2 separate regions of the Homo sapiens genome follow, and region 2 is linked to region 1. Evidence: promoter capture Hi-C in human tissues and cell types (Jung and others, 2019). All regions are on one chromosome and are shown on one strand. Each heading gives the region's core, a stretch centred on a gene start or on the middle of the fragment in contact. The rest is flanking DNA. Distances are from core to core; before and after follow the strand shown. Region 1 holds the start of P2RX2 (purinergic receptor P2X 2). Region 2 overlaps GALNT9 (polypeptide N-acetylgalactosaminyltransferase 9).

Region 1 (4,972 bases), core at 1,243-3,742:
GCACAAGTTCTGGGTCCATAGTTCTTACACACATAATTAGCAAACGTCCCAGAAGGCGGCACGCAGACTCCTTGGATTCAGACAAACCCAAGCCAAAAGGGACCTACTCAAGGCCTCTAACTGGATACAATAGAGTTAAGTTTTGGATCCAATTCAATCCTGGACCCATTCCGGTCTAAGAATTGCTCAAGGCCGGGCGCCGTGGCTCATGCCTGTAATCCCAGCACTTTGGGAGGCCAAGGCAGGTGGATTGCCTGAGCTCAGGAGTTTGAGACCAGCCCAGGCAACACAGTGAAACCCCGTCTCCACTAAAATACAAAAAAATTAGCCGGGCGCGGTGGCATGTGCCTGTAATCCCAGCTACTTGGGAGGCTGAGACAGGATAATTGCTTGAATCTGGGAGGCGGAGGTTGCAGTGAGCTGAGATCACGCCACCGCACTCCAGCCTGGGCAACAGAGTGAGACTCCATCTCAAAAAAAAAAAGAATTGCTCAAAGTAGAGGGCTCAAAACACATGGTCATAGAGCACAAATCCAGCAGAGAGAACTCACCTATGACTCTAGATGCTTTGAGAGATCAGCAGGCACACAGGCCCTACTGAGCATTCAGTGCTCCTAGGGGGTGGCTGGAGGTCTACTTCAGATCCCACTTCTGACACCAAACTGTTAAAACAAAAACTTTGGACAAATTAAATTTAAGAGTTTGTGTGTGTGTGTGTGTGTGTGTGTGTGTGTGTGTGTGTGTGTGACAGAGTCTCCCTCTGTCATGCAGGCTGGAGTGCAGTGGTGCAATCTCAGTTCACTGCAACCTCCACCTCCCAGATTCCAGTGATTCTCCTGCCTCAGCCTCCCGAGTAGCTGAGATTACAGATGCCACAACACCTGGCTAACTTTTGTGTTTTTAGTGGAGACGAGGTTTCGCCATGTTGGCCAGGCTGGTCTCGAACCCCTGATCTCAAGTGATCCACCCATGTTGGCCTCCCAAAGTGCTGGGATTACAGGTATGAGCCACTGTGCCCAGCCAACAGAGTTTAATTGAGCAAAACACAACTCATGAATTGGGCAGCACTCAGAACCAATGGGGGAGGTTCGAGAGCTCCACTCTGTAATGTGGGCAGGAAGTTTTTATAGATAGAACACAGAAGTGAGATACAAAAAAAAAAAAATCACAATTAGCTTGATTTTGTTACTGCTTGAAATGTTTGCCTTATATGGCATGATCAGATCAGTTAGCAGCCTGTGACTGGCTGAGACCCAGCTATTTGTTCCAAAATATACTCATAGGTTAAGCTTTTAGCTTGTTTCTGTGGTACATTAGGTTGCAGTTTGTTGTTACCTAGAAACTCAAGGCACAGAGGCAGCCTGTTAATTGAGTTAATTTAACAGTTCAAACAAATACTTATGCACCAGTGTTTATAACAGCACTATTCACAGAGTTAGTTTGAAAGCAATCTAAATTCCTTCTTTGGATAGCCTAGACATTTCTCCTGGCCATAAGAAGGGGTGATGCCCTGACACATGCTACAATGTGGATGAACCTTGAAAACATGCTCAGTGAATGAAGCCAGACAGAAAAGGCATTAACCCAGAAACAAATATTGCATTTCCTTGATATGAAATATCCAGAACAGGCAAGTCCATTCACTGAGACAGAAAAGCGACCAGTGGTTGCCAGGGCATGGGAGGAGTGTGGAACGGGTCGTGACTGCTTAATGGATGGGAGTTTTATTTTGGGGTGGGGAAAGTGTTTGGGGACGAAACAGAGGCGGTGGTGGTTGCACAATGTTGTGAATGTCACTGAATTGTTTACTTTAAAATAGTTAATTACATGCTATGCTGATTTTATCATAATAAACTATTTTAAAATTATTTTGTGAAAAACTGTGATGCTTGGGATTTGCTTCAAAATAATGTGGGTGGGGTGGAGGTTCGAAAAGTTACCAAAAAAAAAAAAAAAGAAAGAAAGAAAGAAAGAAAACTCTGGCTTGCAAAGAAGAAAACGGATCGGCCGTGGATCCCTCTCCAGCTCGAGGGCTGGAGCTGCGGCGGAGGCAGGAGCTGGAAGCGAGGCGTCTGCTGGCAAAGGCGGGAGTGCAGGTTGCGCTCGAAGCCCCGGCAGCCGCGGCAGGAACCGGCCTGGACGGGGTGGGGGGCGCCGCGGAGGCCGGCGGGACTTCCCATGTCTTTCTCCTCGAGCTCGGAAAAAGTTCCCACCCGGGGAATCCCGACCCTCCAACTTCGAGACCGCCGGTTCCGCGCTCGGCCCCCACCTGGACCAAGAGCTGGGGCTGGGCTGCCGCGCCCCCGGCTCTGTCCCCGCGAGGCCCCGCTCCCAGCCCCACCTGGGACACCCGGGACTCCCGGGACACCTGCGGGGCGGGGCGGGGCCGGGGCGAGGCGGGGCGGGCTCGAGGCCGCACCCCGGAGGCGGAGCCGCGAGCTACCCGCCCGCCGCGCGCCCCCCGCTCTCGGTGCGCAGCGGGGCCGACCCTCAGCCCTGCAGCGCCTTCCTGGAGGTGGGGGCCGCCCGCGCCATGGCCGCCGCCCAGCCCAAGTACCCCGCCGGGGCGACCGCCCGGCGCCTGGCCCGGGGCTGCTGGTCCGCCCTCTGGGACTACGAGACGCCCAAGGTGATCGTGGTGAGGAACCGGCGCCTGGGGGTCCTGTACCGCGCCGTGCAGCTGCTCATCCTGCTCTACTTCGTGTGGTGCGCGGGGCGCGGGGTGCGGGGCGCGGGGTGCGGGGCGCAGGGGAGGGGCTGGGATTGGGGGCGCTGGGCTGGAGGCGCGGGGCTGGGGCTGGGGCTGGGACCGGGGGCGCGGGGCAGGGGCTGGGGCTGGGACCGGGGGCGCGGGGCAGGGGCTGGGATTGGGGGCGCGGGGCAGGGGCTGGGACTGGGGGCGTGGGGCAGGGGCTGGGACTCGGGGTGCTGGGCTGGAGGCGCGGGGCTGGGGCTGGGACCAGGGGCGCGGGGCAGGGGCTGGGGCTGGGACCGGGGGCGCGGGGCAGGGGCTGGGGCTGGGACCGAGGGCGCGGGGCAGGCCCCAAGAGCCCCGCAGAGCGGACCCGGGTCGCGGGAGGGCCCCTGCCGTGCCTGCGGGCGGGACTCAGCCTTCCCAGGGTCGCCTCCGGAGCCGGCGCCGCCCCTGCCCGCAGGTACGTATTCATCGTGCAGAAAAGCTACCAGGAGAGCGAGACGGGCCCCGAGAGCTCCATCATCACCAAGGTCAAGGGGATCACCACGTCCGAGCACAAAGTGTGGGACGTGGAGGAGTACGTGAAGCCCCCCGAGGTGCGGGCCGCCCCCTGCCCCCCGCCCCGCCGTGCACCCTACCCTAGTGGGCGGAGGGGGCAGCGGCTGCCGCCTGGCCGACCGCCCCCTCTTTCTGAGCCCAGGGGGGCAGCGTGTTCAGCATCATCACCAGGGTCGAGGCCACCCACTCCCAGACCCAGGGAACCTGCCCCGAGGTGAGGGGATCCCGCGGCGCTGGGGGACCCCGCCTCAGCTAGGCGGGCCAGCTGTCCCTTGCGGGGTCCCTGACTGGGCCGCCTCCACCCTAGAGCATAAGGGTCCACAACGCCACCTGCCTCTCCGACGCCGACTGCGTGGCTGGGGAGCTGGACATGCTGGGAAACGGTCGGTGTGCGCCAGCTGGGGCTGGGCGGGTGGGGCAGGGCTGCGTCCCCGCTAATGCCTCAGTGACCTCTGCCTCCCAGGCCTGAGGACTGGGCGCTGTGTGCCCTATTACCAGGGGCCCTCCAAGACCTGCGAGGTGTTCGGCTGGTGCCCGGTGGAAGATGGGGCCTCTGTCAGGTGCACCTGCGCCCCGGCCTGGGGCCCAGCCTCCCCTCTGATCCTTTTCCCCTGACCAGAGGCCAAACGGGCGGGGCAGGAGTGACAAGATCTGGGGAGGGGTGGGGGCCAATGCCAGGCGGGGGCTTTGCGGGAAGAGGGGACTAAACAACCCTTCTGTGCCTCCTCAGCCAATTTCTGGGTACGATGGCCCCAAATTTCACCATCCTCATCAAGAACAGCATCCACTACCCCAAATTCCACTTCTCCAAGTAAGAGCCGCGGGGTGTGGTGACGGCCCAGCCTGAGGGCTGCCTTCTGGGAATGGGGTATTTGGGGTGCAGGTCTCGCCTCCTGCCGCCTCCTCAGGGGCAACATCGCCGACCGCACAGACGGGTACCTGAAGCGCTGCACGTTCCACGAGGCCTCCGACCTCTACTGCCCCATCTTCAAGCTGGGCTTTATCGTGGAGAAGGCTGGGGAGAGCTTCACAGAGCTCGCACACAAGGCAGGGCAAGCGCAGGCAGGGTGGGGCCAGGGTGGGCTCCCACCTGCACAGAGAGGGCCTGGGGTACAGGGGACCAGTCCCTCCTCCCTCCTGACCAGCTGGCCCCGCTCAGGCAGAGGAAAAGAAATGCGATCAGCGCAACCCATCCGGTGTGGCGCTTGCTGAATTATTGACACTGGCCATGGGGCTGGCTGCTGGCACCCCTTGTGCCTCAGACACTGGACGCCCACCAGTACCCCTGAGCTGCCCCATGGGCCCCTCAGTGCACACCTCACATGCAGCCTGGGACTGACCCGGGCTCTCGAGGGGCCTCTCGTGTGCCCTTGTGACCCCCTTCCCTGGCCTGGGACTGACCCGGGCTCTCGAGGGGCCTCTCGTGTGCCCTCCTGACCCCCTTCTCTGGCTCCTTCTTGGCAGGGTGGTGTCATCGGGGTCATTATCAACTGGGACTGTGACCTGGACCTGCCTGCATCGGAGTGCAACCCCAAGTACTCCTTCCGGAGGCTTGACCCCAAGCACGTGCCTGCCTCGTCAGGCTACAACTTCAGGTGCTGTACTTGGGACACCGCTGTCCACACTGGCATAGCTGTGGTGGGGTCCCGAGAGGCCCAATGCCTGTGGGGCAGCCCTGGAGTGCAGAGGACGAGTGGGCACTGGCGTTCCCATTGCAGG
Region 2 (4,972 bases), core at 1,283-3,782, 350 kb before region 1:
GGAGGACTCGTCGAGTGTGATTTCCACGCGTGGCGGGTCCCATGCCCCCCGCGGGAGAAGAGCAAGCAGAGCCAGTGGCTGCGAGCTTTTCCGAGGAGCGGGACCGCCAGGCGGAGCAGAGGAAGGGGCAGGAGGTCAGCAGCGTCCTCCGGGCGGGAGCCACGGAGTCCCATTTGCGTCTGGTGCTGCTGGAAAAAGCAAGAGAAGGTGGAGGGGCGTCAGGGAGGAGCCCGTGCCGGTCCCGAGCCCAGGGCGGGGTGGCCTTTTCCTGGGGCAGGTGCTGCTCCGAGCAGGAGGGTGGGGCATAGGAAGCTGGGCCCATGGTCAGACATGGTTTCAGCTCAAATACCAGAAGTGACCGTGAAGAAAGCAGGAATTTGGCTCCATGGATTCGGGGCCGAGGGCGGAATCGTGAAATAGACGCCGCTGGGAACGCGTACCTGGGGCAGGTCTCAGACGCGTGGGGCCGGATCCCGGTGGGGTGGCACGTGGCGCCTGCTGGGACCCTGTCCTGGCCGCTCACTTTCCCGTGTCTAACCAGCTATGCAGGCCTGGCCTTTGCCTGCAGCACACACAGGCGAGGGAGATGGGCGCACGGGATCAGCCAGTTTCCCAGATAACTTAGGCCCAGCCTGTTCTACAAACAGCTTTGAGGCCTGAACAGCACAGACGGACCCTCTCACTGAGGGCACCCCCAGGTGACTTCGGTCTCCAGCTCTGTCTCAGGAGCCACGCTCTGGAAGAAACTCTTCAAAGAAAACTGCTCCTGAGACTGCTCTTGTTTAGTTATTCCAACAAGAACAAGTCCCATTTAGGGCCGAGAAATGAAACAGGGTCACACCTATTATAGGATATAGTGCTGAACAGACATCTTTTGTAAAACAGTCCATTGACTGTGGCCAAGACAGTTGTAAACTATGGAATCAATAACCACTGAGCTTGGCAACAGTGAGCACCTCTGATCCTGGGTGTGAGAAACAGAAGTTGTCACAGAGGCCCCGTGTCTCCCTGAAATAGCCCCGTGTCTCCCTGAAATACGATCACCAGGAACCTCCTCCAGAAGGCAAAGGCCGGCACAGAATCCTGCAGGCTTCACAGAGCCCTGCCCAGGGGCAAACCAGAGAGCTGGGGCCTGGAGTACCCAGCAGGTGATGCCACCTCTGTGCCCTGCCAGGTGCCACCTGGAGATAAAACCCCAGGGACAGGAGCCCCTGAGAACAGCTGGCTTCACGCGTTAGCTCTTGCGTACATAATGGTTCTGAGTCTACGACTGTAATCAATAGGAACTCAATTTGACTTCAATTGACTTCAATTCTTTCTTTAAGAAGAAATGGATTGGATGTGTCTGAGGTCCCAGGTGGAGCTGTCGGCCGTCATCTCCCGGCCAGAGCCCGACCACACAGCCACAGCCATGGCCACAGCCACAGCCACGGACACGGCCACGGCCACAGCCACAGCCACGACACCCTGCAAGGGATGCCAGGAAATGTGGTCTTCACTCTGGCTGGAGCCCAGATACATTTCAGAATTCTATCAGGGAGGAAGAGCGGGAGAAAAGATAAGAGGCAGATGACGGTCAGTCATTGCCACACACAGGGAGGAAGGGGAGTGGGAGAGGAGACAGGAGGCAGAGATTCAGAGAGAGCAAGGAGGAGATGGAGCAGAGAGACAGCGAGGGGGAGAAAGGAGGGAAGGAGGAGACAGGGGCAGAGAGAACGAGACAACAGCAGCACAGTCCTTAAAAATCAAGCAGAGGGGAGAGCAGGTGCCTCAGCTGCCGCCGTCCGCTGCTTCTCCATGACAGACGCTGCGCCCGTCACTCTGTGCCAGTCCCCCATGCGCCCTTCAGTGCCGTGTGTGTTACTGCGGCAGCAGTGGCCATGTGGGGCCACACGTTCTCAGCAGGGCGGTCACACGTGAACAGCCTGTGTGTGTCTCTGAGCCTTGGGGACACGTTTGCCAGCCGACGAAACTCCAGTCACCCGTCACTGCCAGGGCTCGAGGGTGGGGGGAGGAGGAGACAGGAGAGAGGAGAACGCTGCCACGCCCCGCCCGGCTCCCACCCGTCACTCTGCCTCCGCCGCTCCCACCCGCACACCTGTACATCTGCCTTCTTGTGTGTTTCTTCCAGGTTTCTTTATCCCATTTTGAACCAATTTTATCACACCATAAAATTAAGAGATTGTCCTCTTTAAAACAATGAAGCCAGGACAGATCCACCAAGCCTCCCTCCGACGCCCACCCTCAGGCCCCGCCCCTGTCCCCCGAGGTGACGCCGACGTGGGTGTGACAAGTGTCCCTCCAGGTCTGCCCACAAAACACTGGCCTGGCGCTGTGCCCTGCTTTTTAGACACAAACGGCGTTGGGGCAGCTGTGGCCTCGTGCCTTGCCGTGATGCTCCGGCATGGGGTCTGTAAATGGACCCTGCCGAAGGCTGTTTCAGGTTCAGGCTTGGCCGAGGTCCCAAGTCAACAGGGCCAGCGACGGCCAGGGCCCCAAGGCGAGCAGAGCCCCGCACAGAACGTGCAGGGAGGCTCCCACGCGTGGGAGGCCGTGGCTGCCAGGAGGGCCCGTCCCCCGTGCGCCCTTCAGTGCTGTGTGTGTTACTGCGGCAGCAGCCATGTGGGGCCACACGTGTTCTCAGCAGGGCGGCCACACGTGAACTGTGTGTGTCTCTGACCCTTGGGGACACGTTTGCCAACTGACCAAACTCCAGTCACCAGCCACTGCCAGGGCCAGAGGCTGCGCTCGAGGGCGGGGGGAGGAGGAGACAGGAGAGAGGAGAATGCCGTCACGCCCCGCCCGGCTCCCCCAACTCAGAGCAGCCCCAGAGCGGTCGGGGGACGCACCGTGGGGACAGATGCACGGCGGGGACCCCTCTGTGGGCCACGCCTGCTCATCACGGGACCCAGGCTTCTGTTACGAGCGAGCAGAACCCTGTGGGCCTGGCCCAGGTCTCACAACGACCCAGGGAAGCACCCCCTCAACGGGACAGAGTGGGCAATGGTGCGGGGCGGGACAGGGTCAGGGCAGGTGCTCCTTGGCATTCTGACGGTGGCTCCACACAGGCCCTCCACGATGCCCCTGCAGCAAACTTGTGCAGAAGAAAATATCACAGCGCCACCACCCTACTGCCGGGCGCTTAAATTAGTTCCCGGCTTCCCGTGACACCCAGCAGCTGTGGAAGTGCCTGGGCAGGTTGCTTGCACATTCTTTCTGGACTTTTCTGTGTTTTCCGCAGGAGAATGCTCTTACTTCATGCCATTAATGTGCACCTAACACCTGACACTCATCACAAACCTTTGTAGACAAACTGCTGTTTAAATTGGAAATAATGGAACACATACACCTCATTTTTCACCCAGCACTAGTTAGCATAAAATAATTTCTTTTACCCATAATACAGTACCCTTCTCAATTAACAAACTGTCTTTAATTTTTAAAGGGATATTTATCAAACATACATCAAATATGACGATGAATGAAGCAATACAAAGCCTGTGCCCAACGCTCAGTCTAGGAAAGTGGGTGATCACCCCGGCGTCCACCCTCCCTCCACTTCGCAGGCTGCCGTCTCTGGACCTCGTGTGCCTTCCCCGTGGCTCTGCGCCACGCCTTCCCATCCCCAGCCACACCCGGCTCACCTTTGAGCTCGACGCCATGGCCACTGTCTCCCGCACACGGGCCTTAGGGCCCCACTCCTCCTCCTGACATTGAGTTCCTGAGATTCCACCTGAGTGGCTGTGAGCACTGTGGTCATTCTCGCTGCCAGGCTGTGTCTGTTCTATGAAATCACAGTTCCACTCTGCTGGTGGGGGCAGCAGTGGCTTCCGGACTCTCCTTCTTTCTTTCTTCTTTATTTTTGAGACAGAGTCCTACTCTGTTGCCCAGGCCGGAGTGCAGTGGCACAATCTCGGCTCACTGCAACCGCCACCTCCCGGGTTCAAGCAATTCTCCTGCCTCACCCTCCCGAGTAGCTGAGATTACAGGTGGGTGCCACCATGCCCGGCTAATTTTTGTATTTTCAGTAGAGACGGGGTTTCACCATGTTGGCCAGGCTGGTCTCGTGTGATGCGCCCGCCTCGGCCTGGGGTTCCTGTTCTTGCTCAGGGCCGCTGCTGCTGGCTGCCTCCTGGTTTCCAGCTGTGCCCGAATCAGCTCGCCCCACTTCAATGGTGGCAAGGTGCCCTTCCTGGGGGCGGGCAGCCCAGGACCCACAGCCGGGACCCTGTAGGCTCCAGCAGCTCTGTGTGAGCAGCCCTGGCCCCTGGCCCTGTGCTGGAGGCAGCGTCCTCCCCACTCCGATGTCACAGAGGAAACAAATGCAAACCGTTCAGCAGTGGCCCCCGAATAACTCAGCCTGAGTGGAACCCGAGGGTTCTTTGCAGGACTTAAGTGGCGCCGTTTCTGTCAGACAGAAAATAAACTAAGTTTATGGTATTTGGAAAGCATCAGAGTTCAGCAAGATCACGGCACCCAGGACCACTTGAGAGCTGCAGTGATTGAGGGCTGGGCAGAGGCGACGCAGCTGGGGACAGGCCAGGAATGTCGGCCCCATCCAGGGAGCACAGGGCGCCCCTCCCAGGGCCTTGGAGGAAATTCAACCCTGTCAAGCTTGGAGGCCTTCGGCGCATTTAGCCGTTGAAGGAAGTACCCACCGTGGTGTGCTCCAACCAGCATTTTCACATTCACAGTGAGGCCAGCTCGCTCCTGCTCCCACCAGCCCATCGCAGGTCAGAGAAAAGCCAGACGCCCTGCTCCACATCTCTCTCATACTTCTCCGCTCTTCACAACAGGCAGCCTGGCCAGCCCCTTCTCACCTCCCTGGGCACTGCGGCTGCACCCCCAGGCCTGGCAAGGTCACGGTGACCTCCACACCAGCCCATGCAATTCCAGGCTTCCCATTGCCCCTGAGAAGGTCAAAGCCCCGGGTTGCTCAGCCAGGCCGCTCCCTCCACCATCCCCTCTTGGT

What was found. Contacts are between HindIII fragments. The study calls those that stand out against the background at their distance.
Region 2: a fragment that was not itself captured here is called in contact with the fragment with the promoter of P2RX2 in region 1 in 1 of the 25 tissues and cell types used here (dorsolateral prefrontal cortex).

What each region holds. Positions count from the first base shown.
Region 1 is chr12:132,616,284-132,621,255 of GRCh38, forward strand. It overlaps P2RX2 (purinergic receptor P2X 2), which reads left to right and starts at 2,493. Exons shown (of 11, transcript NM_170682.4): 1 at 2,493-2,706; 2 at 3,156-3,291; 3 at 3,396-3,467; 4 at 3,561-3,636; 5 at 3,717-3,813; 6 at 3,984-4,064; 7 at 4,162-4,300; 8 at 4,718-4,848; 9 at 4,972. The coding sequence starts at 2,534. The HindIII fragment of the contact is 14,975 bases long and covers 90-4,972 here.
Region 2 is chr12:132,269,277-132,274,248 of GRCh38, forward strand. The region is part of intron 2 of GALNT9 (polypeptide N-acetylgalactosaminyltransferase 9); the gene reads right to left. Among named protein-coding and RNA genes, the nearest start is that of GALNT9-AS1, 3.6 kb to the right of the region's middle. RefSeq lists enhancers at 3,706-4,600, 4,601-4,972. The HindIII fragment of the contact is 6,377 bases long and covers 1-4,972 here.